Regions from separate parts of the Homo sapiens genome. Here region 2 is linked to region 1. The links are contacts of gene promoters, found by promoter capture Hi-C in blood cells and fetal thymus (Javierre and others, 2016). All regions are on one chromosome and are shown on one strand. The core of a region is centred on a gene start or on the middle of the fragment in contact, and the rest is flanking DNA. Distances in the headings are between cores, read along the strand shown.

The links. Contacts are between HindIII fragments. The CHiCAGO score rates a contact against its expected background, and 5 or more counts as called.
Region 2: a fragment that was not itself captured here is called in contact with the fragment with the promoter of C2CD2 in region 1 in 1 of 17 cell types (endothelial precursors); the score reaches 5.9 in endothelial precursors.

The regions. Positions count from the first base shown.
Region 1 is chr21:41,949,288-41,956,575 of GRCh38, forward strand. C2CD2 (C2 calcium dependent domain containing 2) reads right to left here and starts at 4,731. Exons shown (of 14, transcript NM_015500.2): 1 at 4,083-4,731. The coding sequence starts at 4,361. RefSeq lists enhancers at 1,319-1,824, 3,703-4,477, 6,833-6,912 and a silencer at 4,354-5,023. The HindIII fragment of the contact is 8,952 bases long and covers 3,002-7,288 here.
Region 2 is chr21:42,001,617-42,008,904 of GRCh38, forward strand. It overlaps ZBTB21 (zinc finger and BTB domain containing 21), which reads right to left. Exons shown (of 3, transcript NM_001098402.2): 2 at 1,281-1,345. Among named protein-coding and RNA genes, the nearest start is that of ZNF295-AS1, 3.9 kb to the right of the region's middle. The HindIII fragment of the contact is 1,880 bases long and covers 4,073-5,952 here.

The DNA.
Region 1 (7,288 bases), core at 3,481-5,980:
TAATCGCAGGGGAGCAAAAGGAAAAGCTCAACTGCTGCTTTTGGATACCATAATATTAGTTCTCAGTCTAAGGAGCCTGACCTGAGACTGAGCCAGTTCTGGGATCTTCTGTTCTGTGTGACCAAAGAGTGATCACATCAATGGGAATTAGGGGTCTGCAACACCACACCAAGTGGAGAGGCAAGAGTCAAAGCTCAAACAATTGCTTTTACGTGGTGCTGGGTGAAAGAGGAACTCTATTTACACTGTTGGTGGGAGTGTAAATTAGTTCAACCATTGTGGAAGACAGTGTGACGATTCCTCAAGGATCTAGAACTACAAATACCATTTGACCCAGCGATCCCATTACTGGGTATATATCCAAAGGATTATAAATCATGCTACTATAAAGACACATGCACACATGTTTATTGCAGCATTATTCCCAATAGCAAAGACTTGGAACCAACCCAAATGCCCATCAATGATAGACTGGATTAAGAAAATGTGGCACATATACACCATGGAATACTATGCAGCCATAAAAAAGGATGAGTTCATGTCCTTTGCAGGGACATGGATGAAGCTGAAAACTATCACTCTAAGCAAAGTATCACAAGGACAGAAAACCAAACACCGCATGTTCTCACTCATAGGTGGGAGTTGAACAATGAGAACACATGGACACAGGGCGGGCAACATCACACACCAGGGCCTGTCAGGGACTGGGCGGCTGGGGAAGGGATAGCACTAGGACAAATACCTAATGTAAATGACAAGTTGATGGGTGCAGCAAACCAACATGGCACACGTATACCTATGTAACAACCTGCACGTTGTGCACATGTACCCTAGAACTTAAAGTATCATAATAAAAAAAAAAAGGAAAAAAAAGAAAGAGGAACTCTGATGGATGGCAAGTGTGTACTAGCAGCTTCTCACCAGTGATTCTCAACCATGGGACACTCTCAAAGTGTGCTCCCCAAGCCTACTGAGGCGGATGTGGGGGGCAGGCACGTGTGTCACTAAGCTCTCTGGGCAAGACTCCTGTGATCCCTGCACACCTGGCGTCCACCTGGCCAGCAGGCAGATCAGCAATGGTTTCCTCCAAAGTCAGTGCAAATCACTGTCACATATAATTTAGACCCCTTTCTGGAGTGAGGGTGGGAATCCGAGGTCCCCTGCAATACGGGGAGTCAGTGCTGCTGCAGTGGTCATCAGAGAGCAGGAGGACTCCTCCGGTGCTGACCAGTCCTTGGATCCTGGAAGGTGCGAGCCCCACTGTTTGGGATAACACATTAACAACTCTACTCTCTGAGCTCTTCTCGCTGGCTCTCATTTAAAGGAAACATTTAGGTCTCCAAGTTGATACTGCATCCCACCAGGGAACAGGCTGCAGCCACCAATGCGCAGACCTTGGCAAATTCCTCCAGTTCACGGGCCTCAGTCTCCCCTTCTGGAGAAGGGGCTTGGCTAGAAGAGTTTAGGGTTTCTTTCCATCTTAAAATACAAAGGTGGGGTAAAACTTGGAATGGGAGGAGTTATTGTCTCAATTGGACAGAAAATTCCACTTTTCAGACAGAATGCTGGACATGATTAAGTTATTACCAGTGTCTTCTCAATCCCTAAGCGACAGGCCAAGAACTGGTCTCCTCCCTGGGTAGGACAGAGTGATATCAGGACAAGGCAGAGGCAGGAGGGGGAGCACTAAGCTGTAGCTGTCCAGGCGAGAGCGGGCTTGGAGTGTCAGCCCTAATCCGGGATTAGTGGGAATGGAGGTGGGGGAGGGCAGCCACGAATGGACACAGCAGCCCCTGCTCTCCCACACCGCCATCACTGTCACAACAGCGATGGCCCAGGATGCTGGGATGTGTGTGACAATCGCTGGACTCGGGGCGGCCAGGAATGCAAACACCACTACCTGCTCACCCACAATGCCATCACTGACACGGCAGCGACGGCTCAGGATGCCGGGAGGGTGTGTGACCGTCACTCACAGGGAGCCCAGTCACCCAGATCCTATCTGCCTGCAAAACCTTCCATTTGAATGCAAATCAAATGACATTCCCAGGCATCAGGGCTGTGTTCCCCCACCCCCGTCCCCAGGAAAGTAAGCAATACCAAAAACTGACATCACAGAACTAATGGACTATGTCCATGCAAAAATGCCAGAGATGGCCCTGGGTTGCTTTGAGCATGAATCCGGGACACTGTTGCCTCTTCCAGGCAGGAGGTCAGGAGAGACAGGTGTCTGAGACTGCAGTGTGTGGCCAACAGCAGAGAGAGAACAGAGAAGGCGCAAACAAGGTGAGACCCTCTCTCCTCTCCCTGAACGCAACCCCTCCCTGCTCCCACACAAAGACTCAAGTAAAAAGTTTTCATCCAAAACTTTCAAATATTTCTTTCAGTGTTCTCAGATTGACTTGACCAGCCTAAGACAGATGCCAGGGACATCCTCTTCTCTGCCTCTCAACACTTCAGTCAGATGGGAATATGGAAGGATCATATCCAAGAGGATCATATTTTCTGAAGCCAATCCATAGATGTCAGGAAACGAACCATCCCAAATATACAGGAGGTAGGGTCACTGCCTCTAAGCCTGAAACTCCAGAGTTAGAAGCTGAACTTAAAGGTCATTCACCCAACACTTGCCTGCCTCCTACAAAGGACACAGATGAGACTGGTGCCCAATCAAGCCACCAGCCTGGAGGGGACTCAGCCTCAGAAGCCTTGATTCCAGGTCAGTCAGGGGTCAGTGATGGCAGCTTCCTGGGGAAATACCTGCATTTGCTCCTGGATGTGAGGCCAACAGGGGTGGAGGGCTCCCACAAGAGACAGCTGGTTTCCCTGAGACACTCTCCAGCTCTGGACAGCTGAGGCACAGATTCTGGGCACCAGGACAAAAGTCAGTCAACTGACCCTGAAGCCTTTTTCCTCCAAAAAGTACAGTCATTTATGTTCTTTTTCAAGAGTTCAAAACAAGGTCTCTTGATTTGTTGGATGGCTGCTAACTGATAGTCAAAGCTTTTTTGTTTTTTAATTCCATGGCCATGTCTTCCAAGGCCATGCACAAGGACCAGGCACAGGGCCCGCCATGGAATATTTTGAAGGTTGATGGGGCCGGACATTGAAAATGAGCAATTCTGCTATTTCCACAGCGAATGACCACTGAGCTGCACAGGCATGTGCAGGAAACTGTGGCCTGGAAGGGCGGAGCAGCGGCCAAGACTAGGGGTGCCTCCCCAAACCCACCCAGGCTCCAACTTCTCCTGTGAAATGCCTAAGAATAGTACATGCCAGGAGCTTGTCGTTATACTAAGATGTCTTAAAAGCAAAAATAAGTCAACGAGTAATCAGCGACTACAGAAACACCCACAGGACTGTGAGGCAGCAGAGGTAAGACACGAGGCCCTTAGCTTGCAGGCCAGGGCAGCTGGATTCACATGCCAGCTCTGCCGCCCACGAGCTGTGTGGCACTGGGCAGGCTGCTTGCCCTCTCCGGGCCTTGGTTTCCTCATCTGTAAAACAGTGATAACACCCCTGTCCCGGGAGTTGTGAGGATTCAGAGATGGCAGACGCACCGAAAGCCTCGGTAGGATGTCTGCCCAGCGGCTGGCCCTCAGCAAACGGTCACTATTTTTATATGCCAAGAAATGCAAGTCTTTGGAGATAAATTCTTGGTGAAATTCAGCTCTATGAGAGGCGGAAGCACATTGGGGTCACAGCTATTCATGTATCATGTGCAAGCTCAGTAAGTGTCCGATCGGGCACGGGAATTCGCCCCGGGACTCCAGGCAAGGCAGGTACTGGCTGGCGCGGATGAGCACTTCTGACGGTCCCTCCAACTGCCAGCCTGTCCCTCGCGGAGCCCAGGGCCTGGAGCACCTGCCGTTTGGAGAATAAAATCAATCACTTTGTCTTGTCTCTCCGTCAAGGGGCCTCGCTCCCCCGTCTCTCTCCTAACTCTCGAGGATGGTCTGCGCTGGGGGGAGGACTCCCTTAGCCTGGGTCAGGGGCTGCAGCGACGCCTCCAGGAAAGACCTCGGCCCGGACCGCCCGCCCCGGCATCTGCCGCCCCCCGGCCCGCAGTCCCGGAAACTCACCCCTTTCCTCTCGGCCTCCTCGTTCAGGGCGGTCACCCAGGCCGCCTGCCACTGGCTCCTCCAGCTGCCCAGCGTCAGGATCCAGGAGAGCAGCGCGTCGGACCCCGGGCGCGGCCCCTCTCCAGGCTCCACCGCCCGCCGCTGGGGCTGGGGTCGCGCCCTGGCCAGCGCCCACTGCGCCAGGTACAGGCCTACCGTGGCCAGGGCCGCGACGAAGAGCGACACCAGCGCGAGCCACTGCGCCTCCCCGAGCCACGAGCCCAGCCGGGCCATGGCCATGGCGCATCCCCGGCCCGCCTCGCCCCAACTTCCCCGGCAGCCCCGGGCCGGAACGGCGGACTCAGGACACGCGCTGGCTGCGGCCACAGCGCGCTGGGGGCGTGGAGGGGGCGCGGCGGGGTCGGAGCCCGGCGAGGAGCGTGGCCGGGGGCCTCTGGGCGGGCAAGCGGGGAGGAAACGCGCGGCGGCCGCGGCCCGGGCTGGGCGCAAGCCCCGCACACCTGCGGAACAGGGGCGCGAGCGGACCCCGCGGCCCGCGCTCCCGACTCGGCGTCTGGGAAGTTCCTGGGCCGCTGCGGGCCGCGCTTCCTCCTGCGCGCGCCGCCCCGGGCGTCCCGCCCGCGGCCCAGCGGTGGCCGGAGGAGGCTCTGGCCGCGGGGCGGGGCGGGGCGGGGGCGGTGCCCGAGGGAGGGGGCGCGGCCGGGCCTGCGGGGGCCGCAGTCCTCCCCCCTGCTCCCAACGCGGCGTGCCCCCGCCCCCCTAAAGGCCCGGCCTTCCCGGCCCCGCCACGTGCGCGCGTCGCCCGCCCCTCCGGCGCCTGCCCGCGGGCCGCGAGGTGACCCGGGCCTCCGGATTCATCAGCCCAACCCCGGCGGCTGCTGTGCGGCTGCTTGGCTTGGCTCGTGTGCGCGCTTGCACAAGTGCGTGTGTGTGCACATGTGTGAGTGTGCGTGTGCACAGCGCGCAGTCAGGGTGATTTCGAGGACTGCCATTTGCTCGCCAGCGAGACAGGATCCAGGCTCAGTCCTCGGAAAGTCCCTGGAAATCCGTGGCTGCCCCTGGAGCCAGGGGCTGGGCCTGCCTTAGGGGGCGTGCTTCTCAGAGGCAAGGAGGGGCTCAGCACCAGGCCCAGGCCCTGCCTTCTGTGTGGCTGTGTCATTCATTCAGTGTGCGGGTGGGGCGGGGGTGCATGTGGTGTGATGTGTGTGGCGCATGTGGTGTGATGTGTTGTGGGTGTGGTGTGTGGTGCACAGGATGGTGTGAGTGTGTATGTGTGGTGCATGGGTGTGGTGTGTGTGTAAGCGTGGTGCATGTGGTGTGGTATGTGTGTTGCGTGCCAGTGTGGTGCATGTGGTGTGTGTGATGTGTAAGCGTGGTGCATGTGGTGTGGTGCGTGTGTGGTGTGTCGGTGTGGTGCATGGGTGTGTGTACGTGTGATGTGTAAGTGCACAGCATGTGGTGTATGTGTGTGGTGTGTGGTGCACAGGATGGTGCGAGTGTGTATGGTGGTGCATGGGTGTGTATGTGTGATGTATAAGTGCAGTGTGTGTGGTGTGTGTGTGTGGTGTGTGTGTGTGATGTGTAAGCGTGGTGCATGTGGTGTGGTGCGTGTGTGGTGTCGGTGTGGTGCATGGGTGTGTGTACGTGTGATGTGTAAGTGCACAGCATGTGGTGTGTGTGTGTGGTGCATGTGGTGTGTGTGGTGTGTATGTGTGATGTGGTGTGGTGTATGTATGTGGTGTGTCAGTGTGGTGCGTGTGTGTGTGGTGCACAGGGTGATGTGAGCGTGTGTGTGTGGCACATGGGTGTGGTGTGGTGCTGTGTGTATATGTATTGTGTAAGTGCGTTGCATGTGGTGTGGTTTGTGTGTGTGGTGAACACGGTGGTGTGTGTATGTGTGGTACATGGATGTGGAGTGTGTGTATGTGTAATGTGTGAGTGCGGTGCATGTGGCGTGGTGTGTGGGTGGTGTGTCAGTGTGGTGCATGTGGTATGGTGTGTGTGTGTGTGGTGTGGTGTGTGGGACATGCCCCTGTGCCCTCCTCTTGCAGAGTGGACGCGGTCCTTAGGGAGTGCCATAGAAACATACTAGCCTGAGATTCTCCGGGGCCTAAAACAGGCCTAAACCATAAAAAAGTGATTCCCCTGTTATTTTCTGCAGCTGTATTAAGGGGACTTGACCTTGAAAGGAATTAGATAGACTGAGCATTTGGCCTTCTCTTCCCTAGCCAGGAGTCTGCTGCGGGGCCAGTGGATGGTCCATCAGAGGGGATTCTGGCCCTGAATCCGTGGGCCCGGATTTTCTTCAGGAAAGAGGAAGGAATGGCACAGCAGCTGGACGGAGAGCCTTTGTGGGGAACAGGATAGGACGCTGTCAGGGAGGTGAAATTAGACGGGGATTGCCCAGGTGAGCTGGGGATGGACCCTTGCGAGCCAGGTCTGTTATCAGAAAGTGGAAATAAGAATGAGACTATCCATCCTGGCTAACATGGTGAAACCCCGTCTCTATTAAAAACACACACACACACAAAACTCAGCCGGGCGTGATGGCGGTCGCCTATAGTCCCAGCTACTCGGGAGGCTGAGGCAGGAAAATGGAGTGAACCCGGGAGGCGGAGCTTGCAGTGAGCCGAGATCGCGCCACTGCACTCCAGCCTGGGCGACAGAGCGAGACTCCGTCTCAAAAAAAAAAAAAAAAATTAAGAATGAGACCATCAGCATCCTGCAAGTGACCCATGTGTTACACACGAGCGCTCCAGTCTGCCGCAGCCTCTTAAGGGTGGGGGGAACTGCTCTTCTTTTCTTCTATTCTGTGTTATTTTAGGCAGAAACAAAAGAAATCCCTTCTTATTTGGCAGAAAAGTCTAATTATGTTCTGACCTGTAGCTAGACCTATGCAGTCAGATAATTCGAGTCCTGCTGGTCCCCTTGCCAGAATAACCGGGGTGAGGAATCCGAGGGCCCAGTGTTCCCCGTGCCATGTGTGCACACAGGCCGCCTGCGGCTGTGTGGGCAGTGACGAGAGCCTGTCCTGTGTGACCGGTGGAACCCGTCTCATTCCTTCAGGTCTCAGGTGTGCTGGCCCATCCCACTTACTTATTTAGAGGCTTGTAACAAACTGTAAACTAACCAGCACCCCTAGTTTGGGATTTGTCACACTTCCATGTGACAAATTTTCTTTTCTTTCTTTCTTTAATTTCTTTCTG
Region 2 (7,288 bases), core at 3,763-6,262, 53 kb after region 1:
GGGAAGAGATAGGAAGGATGAAGGACATTTCGAGGGACGAGTATTTATTTTCCATTCCTTTCAGTAGAACAGTAACTAGGTACTCAATAACAGCTATAATTTGGGTGCTTATTCTGCCACACACACAAAAGAAAACACTTTTAATGTATTAACTCAATATTGACATCAACCCTAGGAGTTAGGTACTATTATTATCTCCATTCTACAGATGAGAAAACCGAGGCACAGAGGGTTAAGTAACATGCTCAATGTCAGACAGATAATAAGTAGCAGGGCAAGATTCACATCAGCTGGCTGGGCTGCAGTACATGCAACACTACAGAGACAAGACAGAGCAGGAGGAATCCAAGGGAACCACAGGTGGCTTTGCCTGGTGAAAGGTAAAGGTACACATAGGGGAGGAAATGCCCATGAGGCTGGAGGAAGATGGAGGCATGAGCGCCCTGGGGGCTAAAATATGTCATCTGAGGATCTTGCACAGGAAAGCAACATTGTCCATTCTCCCCAGTACCCCAGGATCTAGAGACTCTAGATGTCTAGATAGGAGACAGGGGTAGCTAGGAGATGCAGATCCCTCACCTTCACATTAAGGCCCTTGTTTTTTTTACATTTTAATTCAATTATTAAGTTTTGAAAACAATGTACCCTTTCCTAGTCTGGCTGCAGACAGACAATTAACATATTGAATTTTTGTGTTTTAATGACAGTCAGTATATTTGAGTTTAACAATTACCTAAAAATATAAAATGCTCCATCCATCAAGAATGTAAGTAAAAAGGGGGAAAATCACAACTGCTGACGATCACGAGATAATCCAGCAAGACTGTTTGTGGCTGGTGGCTGTGTACACCGAATCCTCAAAAACTTTTGATTTCTCTGCTCTTCTGCTGTCAGATAAGGCGAGCTTTGTTGCCGGGTGTACTTTCTCCTCAGTGTATTTTTCAGATCTAGACCGATAAGTTTGCTGGCACATCACTCCAAATTTCCATGCAGGTTTTCATTATGAGTAATCAGGGCCTCCGACTTACAGAAGCAGTGCATCTTACACATAAACACGCACTGCTGCCACCACCGTCTACGCCCCTCCTTTCCACGGCTCATCTCCACCTGACTCATCACGGCAGAACTTCTGCCACTTCAGTCATGGTGGAAAAACCTTGGAGCTCTTAAAAGACCAGTGGGTGAAATTTGGAGAAAAGGTCTATTTACGAGCAACAGAAAAAACTAAGAGGAAAACCCCCCAGGAAAACCAGTTTCTAAAATAGGGCCGGCTTGCTTACCACTTTGATCCTCGCACACAAATAGCTTCCCAAAGCCTTCCTGGATTGTTTCTACTTCATGTCTTCTGAAATTTCAAAATGAGAGAATCTTTATGGTTAACAATTCACAGAAGACCTTACAGTTCCATGGAAAAGCCTTTCGAATCAGTCTATTTGTCTCAAATCCTGGCTCCGCCACCTATTAGGCATGGAACCTTCTAAAGATGACTCAACCTTTCTGACTAGTTTCCTTACCTGTTAAACATGGCTAACACTACCCACCACATAGGATTTTTATGAAGGACAGAAGAGGCAACATGTTTGAAAGCCCCAGTACGTTCAGCACTTCCCATGTGGCACATGCACATCTTCCTTCCTTCTCCACTTCCCCTCACAGATGCTTGCGTGGGCCTGCTACCCACCACACATCACAAGAGGTGCTGGTGATGGGGAGATGAGTAACTGGCCTGCTTCTTGTTCTCCTGTAGCTCACATTTCCATGTTAGGACAGACAATAATTAACAAAGGATGTGAAGAATGCTACGGGAATACTGATTCCAGGAAGCAATTAATTTGGCCAGGGTGTAGGAGGGTGGAAGAGTGAATAGTGGGAACTATTCACTATTAACTATGAGTGAATAGTCCTAAGGAAGGCTTGGGACTCATCACTCCTTTGACAATTATAATACAAGCTGAATATCTCTAGTCCAAAAACCCAAAACTACTTTCTGAGCAACGACATGATGCACAAAGGAAAGGCTCATTAGAGCATTTTGGACTTTTGGATTAGGGACGCTGAACCACTGGGTATAATGAGAATATTTCAAAATCCCAAACAATCTGAAATCTGAAACACTTCTGGTCCCAAGCATTTCAGATAAGGGATAGTCAACCTCTAATACTAAAGGTTCCATTCTTTACATTTCTACTATAGACGCTTTTCAGAAATGCTCATCTGGCCTTGCTGGGGCTTAAAACCTTCCAAGGGCTTGCCCTGGCCTCAACTTCCAATTCCCTGGAATGGCTACAAAACCCTTCAGAACTGGATTCCAGAAGATTATTTCATACCATCACTTCAAATTCCTCAGGTAATAAATGCTAAGGGGGTGGGGGACTCATATCTCACATCTTTTTTTTTTTTTTTTGAAGAGTCTCACTCTGTCACCCAGGCTGGAGTGCAGTGGCATGATCTTGGCTCACTGCAACCTCCGCCTCCTGGGTTCAAGCAATTCTCCTGTCTCAGCCTCCTGAGTAGCTGGGACTACAGGCGCCAGCCACCAGGACTGGCTAATTTTTGTATTTTTAGTAGAAATGGGGTTTCACCATATTGGTCAGGCCGGTCTCGAACTCCTGACCTCAGGCGATCTGCCCACCTCGGTCTCCCAAAGTGCTGGGATTACAGGCCAGCCACCTGTAAGATATGAGCCACCGCGCCCGGCCTCATATCTTAACATAAATTAATTCAATGCAAATACTTTCCTCTTTATAGAGTGTTAAATCAGTTGTATGGAATTAAGATTTTTGAGGGAGAGGGAAGGTAGGCAATTTCGAATATAGAGCATTCTAGTGAGAAGCAGAGGAAAGCAAAGCGACTTGGCACTCAGAAGGGTACCAGGGGGTGAGTGAGGGGGTGAGAAACAGAGATGGAAAGGGATCAAAATAATCTCACCTACTTGGACTAGTGTCATAGCTAAGGTACACTATAAATTAAGTTGGCTCCCAGACTAGCCACAAAACTGCTACTACCAGTTCTACAGGAAAATGGCTCTTTACATCCAGCATCAACCTAGATTTCAACTCTGGGAACATGGGTCCTTTGGAATGTTGGGGATTGCTTCTATAGTCCTAACCATGATACTAGAAAAAAGAGGGAATGCATGTAACACAAGGCAAATACCTAGTTAAAAAAACAAAGCATCTACATTTGACTTTGGAACATAAACACACACACACAGACTGCTTATCCCCAAACCCTCATTTCAGGATTTAGCCGTAACACCTACCATTGGATTTTACTATTTGATGGTGATAGGAAGTTGCCTCTGAGTTTCGGTCTTATCATCACTCACTTGGTGACAACGCAAATATCCTCAGATTTCAAACCTAGACTAGCTTATCCAATCCTTCAAGAGGAGTCATGTTACTATCTTGTATTCCATTTCACCACACTTTCAGTCTCTAACAAGGGGGTTTGATTTTGGTTTGATGGTTGTTCTTGGCCACATTCAGGAGAATGATCCTACTCCAACATAGTTCAAGCTCCTTTGCACCTTAGCAGAGCAGACTCTGGTCACAGCCTTTGCTGTTTTCTTCCAGCCACTACACAGCCATTCCACCTCCTGTTAACAGCCCCATGATTTTGCTATAGAAGAACTGCTCTTGTCCCACTGTGTGCTACAGCCTGATGTGCTCCTCTCCCCTACCTCTGGGCTAACCATACAACCAAAGCCAAACCAATCAGAAACTTTGTCCTCGGAATATGAATCCTGAGAAGAATGACAAAGGCAATAAATAAATGAAGCTGACTTATCTCAACGGAGGCCTGAAAATGCAACCTTGCTAGTGCCTGCTACATAGATTCCTGGAGTTAGCTTGGTTTTTGTCCTTCTTCCTGGCCCAGTTTTTTAGCTTTTCTTTTAAGTCCAAGAGCAACCCTGTATCTTTACAATAAACTACTTTTTCCATTCAAGCCAGACAGTTTCTGTTCTTGTTATTAAAGAACCCTAATATATTTCCACGTGGTATTCACTGTTCCTTGTCATGCCTTCCAAACCCATCCTAATACAGCTTCTAGACTGAGCTTCTTAGAACAAAGCTTTGATCGCTCACCCAACATACACGTTAAATATTCCTATTATTAATTCAACTTATTTACTGAATTCCAATTCTGTACAAGGCATGGTTAGATTTATCTGAAATATAGGGGTGCACCAAACAGACAAGACCCCCACTTTCTAGTGAGATAAATCAGATGCTAAGGAAACAAATAAAAAAGACAACCTCAGATTCTGCTAAAAGTTATGGTGGAAATAAATAAGGTGCTATATCGCTGGATGCAGTGCCTAGAGAGGATGGTCAGAAAATACCTTGATGGAATATTTCAGCTGAGACCTAAGATCTGAATGAAGAGAACCAGCTTTGATCCTGTTTAAAAATAAAATAATAAAAACAATTGTTCTCCATTAGGCTAAAATTTTTAAAACAATGACTAAAGGTCTCTATAAAATCTGGTTTCAAATGACTTTTAAAATTTTCTTAGCCAGGTGTGGTGGCTCATGCCTGTAATCCCAGCACTTTGGGAAGCCAAGGCGGGTGGATCACCTGAGGTCAGGAGTTCGAGACCAGCCTGGCCAACATGGTAATACCCTGTCTCTACTAAAAATACGAAAATTAGCCGGGTGTGGTGACGGGCGCCTGTAATCCCAGCTACTCGAGAGGCTGAGGCAGGAGAATCGCTTGAACCTGGGAGGTGAAGGATGCAGTGAGCTGAGATCGTGCCACTACACTCCAGTCACCACTGGGTGACAGCTGAGCCAGAGCGAAACTCCGTCTCAAAAAAAAAAAAAAAATTTTTTTTTCTTTCCCTTAGTTATTCCCTAGTGATCCCTTTCTGCTCCAGATACTCTGTCTCTAAGACCTAACCTGCACATCTGACTTCTCCCACTCCCCAATCTGGAAAGTCCTAGAACTCACCTAAACCCCTCCTCAGCACACTACTCAGAATATTAATCACCTTTCAAAGCTCAGGTCAAGTTCCAGCTACTCCATAAAATCTTCCATTATGGGTTGAATTGTGTCCCCACTCTTCCCTCCCAAATTTATATGATAAAGACTTAGCCTCCAGTACCTGGAGAATGTAGTCATACTTGGAGACATGGTCTCTAAGAGGTAATTAAGTTAAAATGAGGGCTTTAGGGTGACCCCTAAACTGATGTAACTGGTGTTCTTACAGGAGAGGAAGATTAGCACAGAGACATGAACAGAGGAAGGACCAAGTAGGGACAAGAAGATGCCATCTATAAGCCAAAGAGAAGCCTCAGAAGAAGCCAACCCTGCTGACACCTTGTTCTTGGACTTCTAGCTTTCAGAACTGTGGGAAAAGAAATCTGTTGAGTCATCCAGTCTGCAGTACTTTGTTATAGCAGCCCAAGCAAATGAATATACCTTCCTTGACTACTTCATCTTATAACGTGCAAATACCTCAACTTCAGCACCATTTACATGTTTATTCACTGCCTTTATTGTTAGTCATTTGTGTCTCCCCAAGAGGACTGAAAGCTATTTAAAGACTGATAATCTATTTAATATCTTTTGGCATTATCAATGCTCAACATGTTATCTTCCACAACAATAAAGATTTGACTTTTCTGTACTCTTCACTCCAATTAAATGCACGAGTGAAAATTATGGCTGTTAGTTGTTTTGCTGAAGTAAAGCGTATTACATCACTGCCCTGCTTTGGAGTACTGTACTGATTTTTCTATTCCTAAAGAAAATCCAAACTACAGACTGGCATACAAGACTTTTCATACTCTGGTTACAATTCATCTCTCCACCCTTATTGGACACTACTTACCATCTACTCTACAAACTTGCATATCCAGCCTCTGCCACCCAAAATCTCTCTCTTCCCTCTCCTTTACTTGGCTAACTTCTTTCGAAAGATCCAGTTGAAATGTCACCGACTCTACAAAGCTTTTGTAATTTGCCCCTAGCCAGCAGCTCAGTCATCTAAACTACCACAATACTTCATCTCTCTGTAATAACACCACAACTTCTTCAATTAATCTTCTTTTACATGTGTCTCCCCCAAGGGACTCCCTAAAGAAAGAACCCTTGTTTGCATGCACGTATCCCTGATGCCCAGCACAAGGCCTGGCAAGCTAGGTACAGGGCAAAGAGAGAAATCATCAAACTTGAGGCTCAAGACCTGGACTGGCTCACCTTTATTTCTCCAGCATCCGTTACAGAGCCCCAAAACGTGGCAGTATTCTTTGCTTTTTCTATTAGACCTTGTGACTTTAATCACTACTGGACGATGATTCCCAAATCTGTATCTCTGTTTAGACTCTTGAGGCTCCAGCCTCTCAGGTACCTACTGAACGGTTCCATCACAGTATATCCTCAGGTCCAGCATGGTACTTAAACTCCACAACTCTCGTCCCTGCTCCCACATCTGTTTGTCCTCACATATTCCCGATTTACTTTGGTGTGTTGCCAGACCCTAAAATTTCTTCTCTTTCCCTTATAGCCTATCACTGTGACCTGGTCAAACCTAGCTCTTACATAGCTTATAATCTGCTCTCTCTACTTCCATTGGCTTTGCGGACAACTAAAACTGTCCCTTCGGCTGGGCGCAGTGGCTCATGCCTGTAATCCCAGCACTTTGGGAGACCAAGTGGGGTGGATCACGAGGTCAGGAGATCTCAAGGCCATCCTGGTCAACAGGATGAAACCCCGTCTCTACAAAAAAAAAAAAAAAAAAAAAAAAAATTAGCTGGGCGATGTGGCGGAAGCCTGTAATCCCGGCTACTCAGGAGGCTGAGGCAGGAGAATCGCTTGAACCAGGGAGGCGGAGGTTGCAAAACCAGGGAGGCGGAGGTTGCAGTGAGCCAAGATCACGCCATTGTACTCCAGCCTGGGGCAACAAGAGTGAAACTCTGTCAAAAAAAAAAAAAAAAAAAAAAGAAAAAAAGAAAAGAAAAGAAAAAATTGTCCCTTTAATTATCTCATTTCCATCGAGAGACCTTCTTAACTTAACCCCAATTTTGTTATTTACAATTTTTCCTTCAGAGTGTACACATCTAATATTCAACAGTGTAAGTTCCTCGAGGGCAGGGGTTATATCTTCTTCAACTTCTATTTCAACAGAATGAAGCACATTATACTTTCAATAAAGTGTTAAAAAGGAAAAATAAACAAAAAGTTACTTTTAAGTAAACCAGCACTTCAAATTTTGACTTTCTTTTTAACATCAATATTTAGGGGTGCTTAAATTTAAACTTAATGACTACTAGTCCTTAGAGATC